Linked DNA regions of Homo sapiens: regions 2 and 3 are each linked to region 1. Evidence: promoter capture Hi-C in human tissues and cell types (Jung and others, 2019). All regions are on one chromosome and are shown on one strand. The core of a region is centred on a gene start or on the middle of the fragment in contact, and the rest is flanking DNA. Distances in the headings are between cores, read along the strand shown.

Region 1 (4,099 bases), core at 1,296-3,795:
TGGAGTCATCTGTAAGGAATTTTTATCCTTGTTTCTTGTGTCTGGCAGGAGATAGCTTGAGTCATTACAGCACTCTCTCCACCCCTTTTGGCCCTTTGTAAGAGTTTTCCCTGAAACATAAGCTCTGTCGGATTTACTGTATTGCTATGAATGGACTAAGGCAAATTGGTGTGACTTCTCTGTGGTCGAATATGTTTTATTAATACTTTTCCAAGATGGTTCAATATGTCTTAATTTTTCCAAGAAAAAACTCTCCACAGCACATGTTCAAATACTTGAGGTATGTGTTTCAAACTACAGGGAGAAACTTACGTAAGACAATGACCCTCATAGTTGGTAGCTATGATTTTTAATCATGCCTGTTGCACTAATTGATCCAGTTACTTGAGCTCTATGTTTCCCTGTCTCTACTTGCAATATGGCAACTAGAACATTTGACTGGCAAGTTTGTTTTCTCTCCAGTGGTTGGAGATCCTTGAATAAAATGCCCTCTGTAATGGTAAGCTGTAATTAGATATGTGGGTGGAAATTAGCGTTCTTCAAGTACACCATGTTTAAGGCAGAGGCATCATGCTTTCTACTACCTGAGGCCACCTTGATCCTCTGCCATAGCTCCGGGTCACTGCTTCTATAGGGCTGTTGGTCTAAGGCTGCCGGTTCCAAAAAGAAAATAACTCGGTATTGAGCTCTGAAACCAGGAATTTTATTTATTTATTTATTTATTTATTTATTTATTTATTTTTTAGATGGAGTCTCGCTCTGTCACCTAGGCTGGAGTGCAGTGGTGTGATCTGAGCTCACTACAACCTCCTCTTCCCGGGTTCAAGCGATTCTCTTGACTCAGCTGGGATTACAGGCGTGCACCACCACGCCCGGCTGTTTTTTTATTTTTTATTTTTAGTAGAGACAGGGTTTCGCCATGTTGGCCAGGCTGGTCTGGAACTCCTGACCTCAGATGATTCGCCTGCCTCAGCCTCCCGAAGTGCTGAGATGACAGGCGTGAGCCACCGCACCCGGCTGAAACCAGGAAGCTTTTTTTATGGTTAAAAATGGGCTACACAGTTCAATTATAGACAAATCAGGCATTGACCACGGATCACTATAACCTGTCTTTTCATTTGGAAGTGTACATTATCCCAACCTTCCTAACTATCTTTTGAATGGTACCTGCATCTTAAAACAAAACACCAAAACTTTTGAATGGATTCCTGGAGTCATGGTAGGTCCTCCATTTTGGATGAGATCCTTCAGCAATAGGATCCCTGTAGCAACAACCCTTTTCTATCCTCCTCACCTTTTATACAGAAAGTACATCCCTGTCTTCCGGACTAAAAGGGGGCCGTAATTCGTACAGTTAAAAATTTTATTATTGGATTTGTTTTTAGATTTAAAAAAAACCGAAAACAAAACCTTCAACAACGATCAATTCTGGCTTCCTGGATGCCCTCCTCCCCGACTTGACTTGAAATGAAATTGCCTCGCCAGTATTTTATATCTACTTTTTAAGGGAGGTGACTTCAAGACCATTGGGAATGACGAAAAATTTAAAATTATCATTAGTTCCTCTCTCTCCCCGCCCCCTGCCCGGGATTCCCTCTTTGCTAATGACGCTGGAAAGCGGCTCCACTGGCTGCGTTTCTCTTCTTCCACTCTTGCGGCAACACACTGTTCCGCGCGCGTCTCCCGGCGACTGCGTTTCCCCGAGAGTCGGCTGCGTTCGTTTGGGGATGAAGTCATCCCTATACCTAGTGTGCACATCAACTCGTTCCATCGGCGCAGCACGCTGGGATTCCTCGGGAAGAAAAGGAGCGAAGGGAACAATGATGACCATATTTTCCATTTATATGCCCCTCCTCAACTCCGCAGGAATCGCTGGGCGCAGCCGCGGCGAGGGCGGGCAGTTGGGCTGACCGGGATGCCCCCCGATTCCCTCATCCCCGTCCTGAGACCGCAACAGGGCGGGCTGAGCACTCGCCCCGCGCGAGGGCACCCGGCCGCGAGCCGACCCGGAGTCTCCTGGCCCGGCCCTGTGCCCAGTCACGCGTCCAAGCTCCCCACGCCGGTGCCTACGGGTCTGGCGCCCAGGAGGTCTCGGCGCCTCGGTCTCCGCACCGTGGCCGTGGGGGAGGCCTCGGAGCTCCCCAAGCCTCTGGGGAGCGGGAGGCGACGGGGAGGGGGCCGACGGTCAAGGACAACCACGGGCGAGGAACCCCGGCCGACAACTGGCCGGAGGTGTTGGGCGGGAGGGGGGGGTGGTGGCCCGCCCGAATCCCAGAGGGGTGCAGGGGGCGGGGTAGGGAGGCAACAAAGAGCCTCTCTCCGCCGCCGCCGCCGTCGCGCTCGCTCTCTCCCAGCCTCGCTCTCCGCAGTCCGGCGGGGGCCCGGCCGCCGGCGCGGGGGAGTGCGCCCGGCCCCCCGCCTCCCCTTTCCTCCCCTCCCCCCGCACCGCCCCCTCGCCCCCGGGGGAAGGAGGGGAGGAGGGCGGCGCCTGCGTGTTCCTCCGCCGCGCGCCCCGCCTCCTCCCGGGTTCCTCGCGGCGATCCCGACTCTCCTCCCGCGGCTGCAGCAGCTGCCGGTTGCACACGGCCTCGGCGGCGGCGCGGCGAGCGCGGGCCTGTGGAGCGGCGGCCGGGCGCGCGGCCCCGGCGGGCACCCCTCAGAGGGCGGCCGAGGAAGCTCCGGGAGGAGGAGCAGGACCACGAGGAGGTGGGAGGCGGCGGCCGCCTGGGGACCAGCTCCGCGCCTCGGCCTCTCCGCCCCCTCCCCAGCCTTTCTCTCGCCCTCTTCTCCCACACTCCCGGCCGGCGCCTCGGCTTTGTGCGAGGAGATGGTGTAGCCCCCTGGCCGCCGAAGGAGGAGCCGGACACTTGTCTCCCGTCTCCGAGCTGCTCCCCACCCCTGGAGGAGAGACCCCCCCCTCGGCTCGGCGCCTTCTGCGTCTCCCGGCTGGTGGGGAAGCCTCTGCGCCGCCGGCACCATGAGGTGAGGGGCGCGCGGGGCGGGGGCCGGGCGGGCCATTGTGCCGCGGGAGCCGCGACCCCCGTTCTCCTCGGACCCCGCCTTCCCTCTCCCGGCCCGGCGCGTCTCCCCTGGTCTCCGGTCTGTTCCTCCCCCCTCCGCCTTTTGTCCCTTCCAATTTCTCTTTCTTTCTTGGAAACCTCCCCAACCCGTGTGGTTTGGGGGTCTCGCTTCATCGTTCTCTCATTTTTCCTCAAATGCTCTTCTTTCACCCAGGATTTCCCTTCCTAAATTTAATTTGCGCCTGGCTCCCTCCCCCAAGCCTTTGCAAGCGAAACCCGGGAGATGGGGAGGGGTTCGAGAATCGAAGCGTGCGTGTTGCTGGGAAACAGGTATTTTTTCGTATATATGTAAAAATTTCATGCACTTTTGCCTCCGAACTCTCGTGTTTAATTAAAAAAGGAAGAAAAGTTTGAAAGGTCTGAAATCTCTGCGGGTAATAAAGTGCCTCTGGTAGGGGTAGGTGAAGGAGCTGTGAAAGGTGAAATTTCACGATGGTGGGGGAAGGGAAAGAATTGATTAGGTTCACGTGGTGGGGGCAGTAAAAGACTGGGATAAGTAAGTTGGTAGGGGTGTGTAAGCGGGGGCGGGGAAGGGATCTGTTTGGAAAAGCCTTTTCTCCCCTTTCTCTGTAGCAGCCTGTGTTGCATTGCAGCAGCTGCTTTTTCCCTTTGCTCTGTACTCAATAAAACAGGAGCTAAATTATTTTTGCGGCCCCGAAGAATTGAATGTACTGTCGTAAAATATTTTTTTAATTGATACGATGAAACATATGGTATGATATTTTTCTTTATTGTTTCTCAAATTGTGTAGGAGAATAAACCGTGATGTGGTGTGTCATTCATTGGAGATTTTTTTTCCAGCCTTTCCTAAACCTGTTCTGTGTCCATAACCTTCTCTTTTCGGATTGGTGCAAGACTTCGTGTGAAATGGGACTTGGTAGACTGAAGGCTGATCCATTCTGCGTTATCATCCTTAAAGGCCTTCCTTTTGGGTTAAACAATTGTGGATAAAGTAAATTACTCCATTTCTCTCTCCTGGAAGAGATAGTCTTACAGTTCATTTGGATTTGAATCTCCTT
Region 2 (3,629 bases), core at 237-2,736, 140 kb after region 1:
TTAAAGCTTAAAAAATAATATTTAGGTTTTTTAAAATTAATGCTGATGTTTCCTTCTGTTTTAGATGTAATATATTAATAAAAATATGGTTGTCTAACATAGGAGTTGATTATGTCTGTATATTCTCATTAAGATGGAGGATACCTCTTTCCCAAGTGGAGGGAATGCTATTGGTGTGAACTCCGCCTCATCTAAAACAGATACAGGCCGTGGAAATGGACCCCTTCCTTTAGGGGGTAGTGGTTTAATGGAAGAAATGAGTGCCCTGCTGGCCAGGAGGTAAGGAATTTCATTATAATGGACATGCCCAGAATTGAGAGGATTTTAATTGTATTCCAAATACAACTAACTAGATGCACTTCTTTCCTCGTAGAGAAGTGGTTTTTATACTGAATCAGATAATATTTTTAAAAATCGGATTTGCCTTCTTTGTAGGAGAAGAATTGCTGAAAAGGGATCAACAATAGAAACAGAACAAAAAGAGGACAAAGGTGTAAGTTAATAAAGATAGTCTACCATACCTTAAAATATGGAATTCAGGCACAGCTCATTCAGGAAATAGTGTCAGCATTTATTTAATTTGGGCTTAATTAGTTTGAACTTATATTTGCTAATTTTTAACTATGCATGTGAAGTGGCTTGTTTTGACTGTTATTTATAAATTTTTAATGGCAGTCTTAGTAAAGTGAGTTGAATATGTGAAATTATGGGAAAAGCATTGAAGTTCAAACCTGTGGAGTTTAATTCTGTTCCTTAAATGAGTGAATGACATTTCACTACTTTTTTCATCTCTTAGAATCTCAGTTCCCTTGCATTAATTTAAAAGGAAGGAATTCGCCTAAATTCATATGTTTCCCTTAGGAGCTTGATGGTTATTGGCTGTGCCCCTTCAGAGTGTAACCTTCATGCCCTCCTCCCTGATTCAGCTGGGCAAACTCTGCTTTGTCTGTGCTGTATATTGGTGTGCAACAAATAATATGTTCCCCCTGCTCCATCTGGCCACCTTAGATGCCATTCCTCAAATCTGTCTCTCGTGTCTGGCTTTGTAGCATTGGCTAGTGAAAGTTCTCAAGGAGAACACATGAGGAAAGGAGCTGTGGGGAGGGTTGAAGGGAAGATGGTTGAAGACAGGAGAAGAAAGTCTAAGCTGAAATGAAAGGGAGAGAAGACCGATGAAAGAGAAAGTGGGGAGTGGCAGAAAGAATATTAGAAGTGTTCGTGTAAAACACTAAATGTATATAGCAACAGGGGACTGGTAGATGTGATATTAATATATATCTGTATATTTAGGAAGATTCAGAGCCTGTAACTTCTAAGGCCTCTTCAACAAGTACACCTGGTAAGTTCAAGATAAATATTTTAACCTTTATAAACTTTCTCTAAATATTAATACTCCCCAGTTAAAAATTCCCCCTTTCCCCATATTTGGACCAAGTGACTGGACACTAAAATGCCAGAGTTCTTTGTTCCCACCTGAAAGCATTCACTTTTTTCCTCCTGGAAGCTGCTGTTACTTTCTTGAGGTTACTTACTAAAACAAGGAAAATATTAATGTACTATTAGATGACAAGAGTATTTTTCATAATTGTTTTTCTAGAGGTAAAAATAAAGTGAGCATGTTAGTTAGTACTACAGTCTGCTTCAGAACATTCTCAAATTGAGAAGGATGTCCTAGCCATTCATTTGGGTGATATTGATAATTAAGGGAATAAAGTTTCTGATTTGTAAACTTAAAAAGTCTCCTTAAAATTTTGGGGAAGTGTTCTTGAATTCAGTGAAATTTCTGACATTGAGAATTCTTGAGCATCTGATAAATCACCTAGAATATTAACAAAAGTATATTTCACTAGAAGTACTTGATGAGTACTGTATCCAAGATGAGAATACGAACTCATTACATATTCACATGTTATTTCTTCATATTTGATTAAAGACTAAGGGCTGGACTATCTATTGAACTCCTTATCTATTCTGGAATGAAATGACATAAATAAACTTGATGAGTTAATATCTAGAGTGGTCCATAAGAAACCATTATAGAGAAATGCTTATATTCCTACAGTTTTGATTTAAAGACAACCAGCTGCATCTACAGTTCCCTTTTTAATTTTCATTTTTTTAATTTTTTTGAGATGGGGTCTTGCTCTGTTGCCCAGGCTGGAGTGCAGTGGTGCAGTCTTGGCTCACCGCAACCCCCACCTCCTGGGCTCAAGTGATCCTCCCACCTTAGCCCCCCAGCCCCCTAAGTAGCTGGGGCCACAGGCACATGGCACCACTCCTGGCTAATTGTTTGGATTTTTGGTAGAGACAGGGTTTCACCATGTTGCCCAGGCTGGTCTCAAACTCCTGAGCTCAAGTGATCCACCTGTCTCAGTCTTCCAAAGTGCTAGGATTACAGGCGTGAGCCACAGTGCACCACCTAGAATTCCTTTTTTTTTTTTTTTTTTTTTAAGTACCTCTGAAGTTTTTGTTTTTGTGATTGTAATCCATCTTTTCACCACTCCCCCCATTCCTCATTCTTATTATTAAATGGTGACTCTTCAGTAGGTTGATTGCTATACCATAATTAACATCATGGCTTTGTTTTCCCTCTGAATAGGACTCAGTTTGTTATTTTCATTAAAAATTCACTGGTTTGTGACCCACTTATTTTAGCTTTATCCTTCTTTCTGTAAGCCAAAATTAATTGTATGTACTCTCATTAGTACCGCATAGATGTTGTAAATCCGAACCATATTTTGGGCTCACAGAACCTTTAGAATATGATGAGAGCTATAGATCCTCTTTCCAGGGAGGAAAATTGTATTTTTATTCAGATTTGTTCATAATTTCAGAATATTCATGAATTTCTTGAAGGTTATCCATGGACTCCAAGTTAAAAATTCCTTATCTAATATATAATCCCTTATATAAAATATGAAAAACTAAGGCACAGGTTTTGTGTGTGTGTCATATATATAAAATCAAAAAGGGCAGGGCCTGTTTTCTCACTTGTTTCATTCCGTTTTTAAACTGACATTGTGTCAGGCACCTGAAGTGAAAGGTACAGGTCCTAAGCCCAAAAAAACTCATGGTACAGCTGGGAAGATGAGACACACAGGTGTGAAGTTAACCTTTTTACAACCACTTGTTGAATACTAAGTAGTGTGTCACAGAGGGAGGAAATGACACATACGAGTCACCTGAGTCAACTTTGTAGGGAAAAGTGACATCTTAGTATTCCTTGAAGAGTATTTAGTTTGGCTGAAAGTGAGGGGAAGGTGTGATATTTCAGGATGTAAGTATAGCATGAGCAAGGTATGGAGTTGGAGATGAGCAAGAAGAGATTAGGAAATAGGAAATAGACTAGAACGGGGAATTCTTTTTGAGGAATATTGTAGGGAAAAGGTTGAAAATATGAGTTAGAAACAAAAATGTTGAGAGCCTTTTATAAAATTATCAAGAGTTTAGACTTTATCCTGCAAGTACTGAGTTCAGTGGACATTTAATCCACTGAAACTGTTTGAGGCACATTAAAATGGCACTTGTGATTTTCCCATTGAAACTAGGGAGGATTAAGATAGGCAGACCAATTAGGAAGCTCTATACGCATGCCAGTAAAGATCCTCTGAAGGGAACCCAGCCTTGCC
Region 3 (3,820 bases), core at 314-2,813, 230 kb before region 1:
GCGCAGCTATGGAGGGACAAGGGCAGAGATGATACTGGCGGGGGGCATAGAGGAAAAACCCTGGAAAATAACTAGTGGCTAGAGCTTTGGGGAGAGAAGGGGAAAGACAGATGGGACAGAAAAGAACTGAGAGAGGCAGGAAGAGACCCTCCCCACCCCACTCCTGGACAGCCACAGACTGGCGCTAGAATCAGGGACAGGGAGGTAAGGAGGAATTTTTTTTTTTTTTTTTTTTTTTTTGAGACAGAGTTTCGCTCTTGTTGCCCAGGCTGGAGTTCAATGGTGAAATCTCAGCTCACCGCAACCTCCGCCTCCCAGGTTCAAGCGATTCTCCTGCCTCAGACTCCCTAGTAGCTGGGATTACAGGCATGTGCCACCACACCCGGCTAATTTTGTATTTTTAGTAGAGACGGGGTTTCTCCATGCGGGTCAGGCTGGTCTCGAACTCCAGACCTAAGGTGATCCGCCCACCTCGGCCTCCCAAAGTGCTGGTATTACAGGCATGAGCCACCGCGCCCGGCCATAAGGAGGATATTTTTATGCCGTTACAGAAAAAGATGAAAGCTCAGAAATGGAAGGGAGGTCGGAGAACCTGCAAAGGCATGCATGTGGGGTGAGGACTGCTCAGAGCTCAGAGAGGGGTGCTGGAAGGGACCTGAGAGGAAGCTTTGGTCCAACCACTCATTTCACAGATAGGGAAACAGGGGCCTGCGGACGGGTTGGTTTGCTCCTTGATTCCCAGGGCGCGCGGTCCTCCCCGAACCCAGCCTCGCTTCCCGCGCAGCGCCCAGCAGTCCCTGGCGCGGCGGGCCGGCCCTGCCCTCGCGAGCTTGCGGTCCGGTTGTGGAGGCCACCGGCTCCCTGGAAACATTTGGCTCCCGGCCGGGAGGCATGCCGCGCTCTCGGACCTGGGCTGGAGTAGGTGCCCTTGGCGGCCCTGGCTCGAGCAGTAATGGACTAGCCCCAGGGGGCGTTGGAAATGCTGCGACCCGCCCCCACATTTTTGCCCGAACGGAGACCCTCCGGGCTTTCACGGTCCGGCCTTCTACAGCGGCGGGGGAGCCGTGGCCTCTTGCAGGGCGCTCCGCGCGGTTCCCGACTACCCGGAGCCGAGGTGCGGGCTGAATCCTGCTGAGCTCCCCATGCTACCACCCCCGCAACCCCACTCTCCCGGGGCGGGTCTAAGAGCTCTTCGGGGAAATTCAAAGCACTACAGGGACCAACGTTTGCAGATGCTCTCCCTGCGCCGCGACCACCCTGTGCTTGGCCCAGTTCTCCCGGAGGCGTCCAGAGACTGGGCTCGTGCCGGGGGACGGAAGAGGGTGCGCCCCGGCGGATCCCTTCTTGGAGCCTGGACGTGAGCTGGCCGGTCCGGGGCTTGCAGACCTCCGGGAGGAGCTGCGGGGCTGAGCGGCGACCAGGAGGCCAGGCCGGGGCAGAGGACCGCCGAGGGCCACCGCGGGAGGCGCAGTCAGCTGCGTACAGGCTTGCGCCGCCGCGGGCCAAGACTCCAAATTGGGAAAGGGGTGGCCGCAGCTCTGCGCATGTGCAGGAGGCGCCGGAGTTTCACTTTGTAACTTTTAAGTGGTCGGAACACGCCCCGCGCTGCTGGGTCCCGCCAGACACGCCGCCGCCGCAGGTACAGGGGACAGGGGGCGTGAGGAGGGGCAATGCACCCTCCGCCTTTCCCGGGACGTGCGCGCCAGGTGTCCGGTTCCGGAACGGCTCCCAGCCTACGCAGACCCCAGAGCCCCCGACCCCAAGCAGGGGGTGACGACGCGGGATTGGGTGGGAGGAGAGGGTCCGGGCAGCGCCTCCATTCCAGCCCTGCGCTCCTTGGGAATTCCTGGCGGCTTTTCAGGACTTTCCTCTCCGGCTTTTCGCTTTCAGGGCTGGTATCTCCTTCTTCCCCACCCCTCTCTTTGGGATTTGTCGGCGGAGTCCGACCTCCCACCTAACTAGGAGTGCAGCTATGGGCTCCTCGGACCCTATACGAGGCCGGGCTGGGAAAGGGCCAAGCGTCCGACTCTCCTGACGCCAGGAAGGCAGAGGCCACCCCTCGGGCTGTTCCTGGGTGACCACTTCCTGCAGCCTTGGCGGAGTCCTGAGGAGGGAGGCTGGGGACTCGGGGACTGGGGGGAAGGGCGGGGGCGGAAAGGGTGAGGCGAGCTCTGCTAAGAAACCAAATCCGCAAAGGTTCCAGCACCTGATAAGACTAGCTACCTGAGGCCCTGGAGGGGCCTTGGTCATTCAGCCCCAGGCAGGTGGTGTCCTCTTCAAGGGCAGGGGTGGACAGCGTGGCGGACCCACTGACCCTCCCTTGACACCTCTCAGGTCATCCTCAAGTCTGCTGTGCCTTCAAGGGGGATATGAACGGAAGCCGAGGCTCCTTTTCCCTTCACACGCCCCTCTCCTTTGTTTAGTGTGGGGGCAAAGGTCTCTCCTAGCTGTTCGTTGGGCTCTAACAGAGAAGACGTCAGGTGGGATCCTGCCCTTGTGTTTCCCATTAGCTGGAGGGGCGACTTAAAATAAAGGCAGACAGCTTCTAATTGCTTGCTAGGGCCGGGTCCTGGGCTAAGTGCTTTACAGGTGTTGTTTGGGATCTGTGCCTCCCAACAGCTCCGTGAGAGAAAGTCATCACTCGCATTTCCTGGCGAAGGAAGCCAAGGCACAGAGTGGTTAGGCTGCTTGTCTGAACTGCGTGGTGCTGAGACCCTAACTCCAGAGCCTGCTCACATAATCCCTGAGCCACACTGCCTCTGGTTTCAGCCAGGGGCTGTGTCATTTCCTTTGTGCTCCAGGGTAGGAGGTAAACAGTTGTCCAGGTTACTGGGTCCTGTTTGGTGTTGCCATAAGGAGAAGTTTGTACTTTACTTTGCAACCTTATTCTGCATCTGAAAGACCAGAGTTAGCTCCTGAGGCAGAAGGCCTGGAGCTGCTTGTAGTTTCGCTATTGTCATCACAGGATTGAAAGATTTGGTGATGATAAAATTACCCTGAATTTGTACGGGCCTTCTTGCAAGAACGAACAATATCCATATACTTCCTGCAACATTCTGCTGGTATTTCTAGAGCTTGTCAAGTTGACCACCAGGCCAGTCCTTGCTGCCAATGGAGACTGGCAGTGGATTAGCATAGGTAGTTTACTTTGGCAAATTTAGACCAGCTGTTGGATTTAGCCCTCTCCCACTGGCCACAATCAGACGCTTGCCTGCACATGGGTTGAACTTTGGGTTGGGAGCGTGAAGTCACCTGCTGCCCACTCTGGCTCTTGGGCCTCAGCAGTAATTCTTGGCTTTCCTACCCTCGGCATATTGAGTAGGAATAAGGGGATGAATGGAGAATTTCTGGAAGGCACAGGTAAGTGCTAGGCATTCACATACATCTAGGATGACTGAATATTGCCAGGGGTTCTCAGCCAGGCAGTGCCACTTCAACCACAGTGCCTAGCTGCTGGTTTGGCCTCCTCTATACAGCTGCCAGCTGGGTGCTCCCCTCCCCCTGCCTTCTCCTCAGCCTGGCAGCACTGTCCCATGGTGTCTGTGTTCCCAGCTGCCTGCTCAGAGCGTGCCTGTTTGTGAAAATGCAGAGGAGCTGTCCCATGGAGAGCCAGAGGGACGGAGCTGTTTCAGGGGGATCTGGACTTTATGTGTCTAATGGGCAGGGACAGGCTGGGACTGAGCTGAAAGGTCTGAGAGAGATTGTGGGTCCCCAGAGCTCTACCCTAACCTGGGTGCTCATCGGAGAGGGCAGACAGGACTGGCCACCTGACCTTACCTCCGTCTCAGGCTGATAGTATTTGCTAGCCACCTCCCTGAGT

Evidence for each region. The method cuts DNA at HindIII sites, captures the fragments that hold promoters and counts their contacts. A contact is called where the count stands out against the background at its distance.
Region 2: a fragment that was not itself captured here is called in contact with the fragment with the promoter of ENAH in region 1 in 1 of the 25 tissues and cell types used here (aorta).
Region 3: the fragment with the promoter of TMEM63A here is called in contact with the fragment with the promoter of ENAH in region 1 in 2 of the 25 tissues and cell types used here (heart left ventricle and psoas muscle).

The regions. Positions count from the first base shown.
Region 1 is chr1:225,651,569-225,655,667 of GRCh38, reverse strand. ENAH (ENAH actin regulator) reads left to right here and starts at 2,545. Exons shown (of 14, transcript NM_018212.6): 1 at 2,545-2,982. The coding sequence starts at 2,978. RefSeq lists a silencer at 2,566-2,695. The HindIII fragment of the contact is 16,817 bases long and covers 1-4,099 here.
Region 2 is chr1:225,509,521-225,513,149 of GRCh38, reverse strand. ENAH (ENAH actin regulator) reads left to right here. Exons shown (of 14, transcript NM_018212.6): 8 at 134-279; 9 at 436-493; 10 at 1,291-1,339. Among named protein-coding and RNA genes, the nearest start is that of LINC02765, 44 kb to the right of the region's middle. RefSeq lists an enhancer at 3,563-3,629. The HindIII fragment of the contact is 3,476 bases long and covers 1-3,224 here.
Region 3 is chr1:225,880,123-225,883,942 of GRCh38, reverse strand. It overlaps TMEM63A (transmembrane protein 63A), which reads left to right and starts at 1,563. Exons shown (of 25, transcript NM_014698.3): 1 at 1,563-1,639. RefSeq lists enhancers at 645-694, 755-804, 3,007-3,820 and silencers at 1,315-1,474, 2,035-2,154. The HindIII fragment of the contact is 9,047 bases long and covers 1-3,820 here.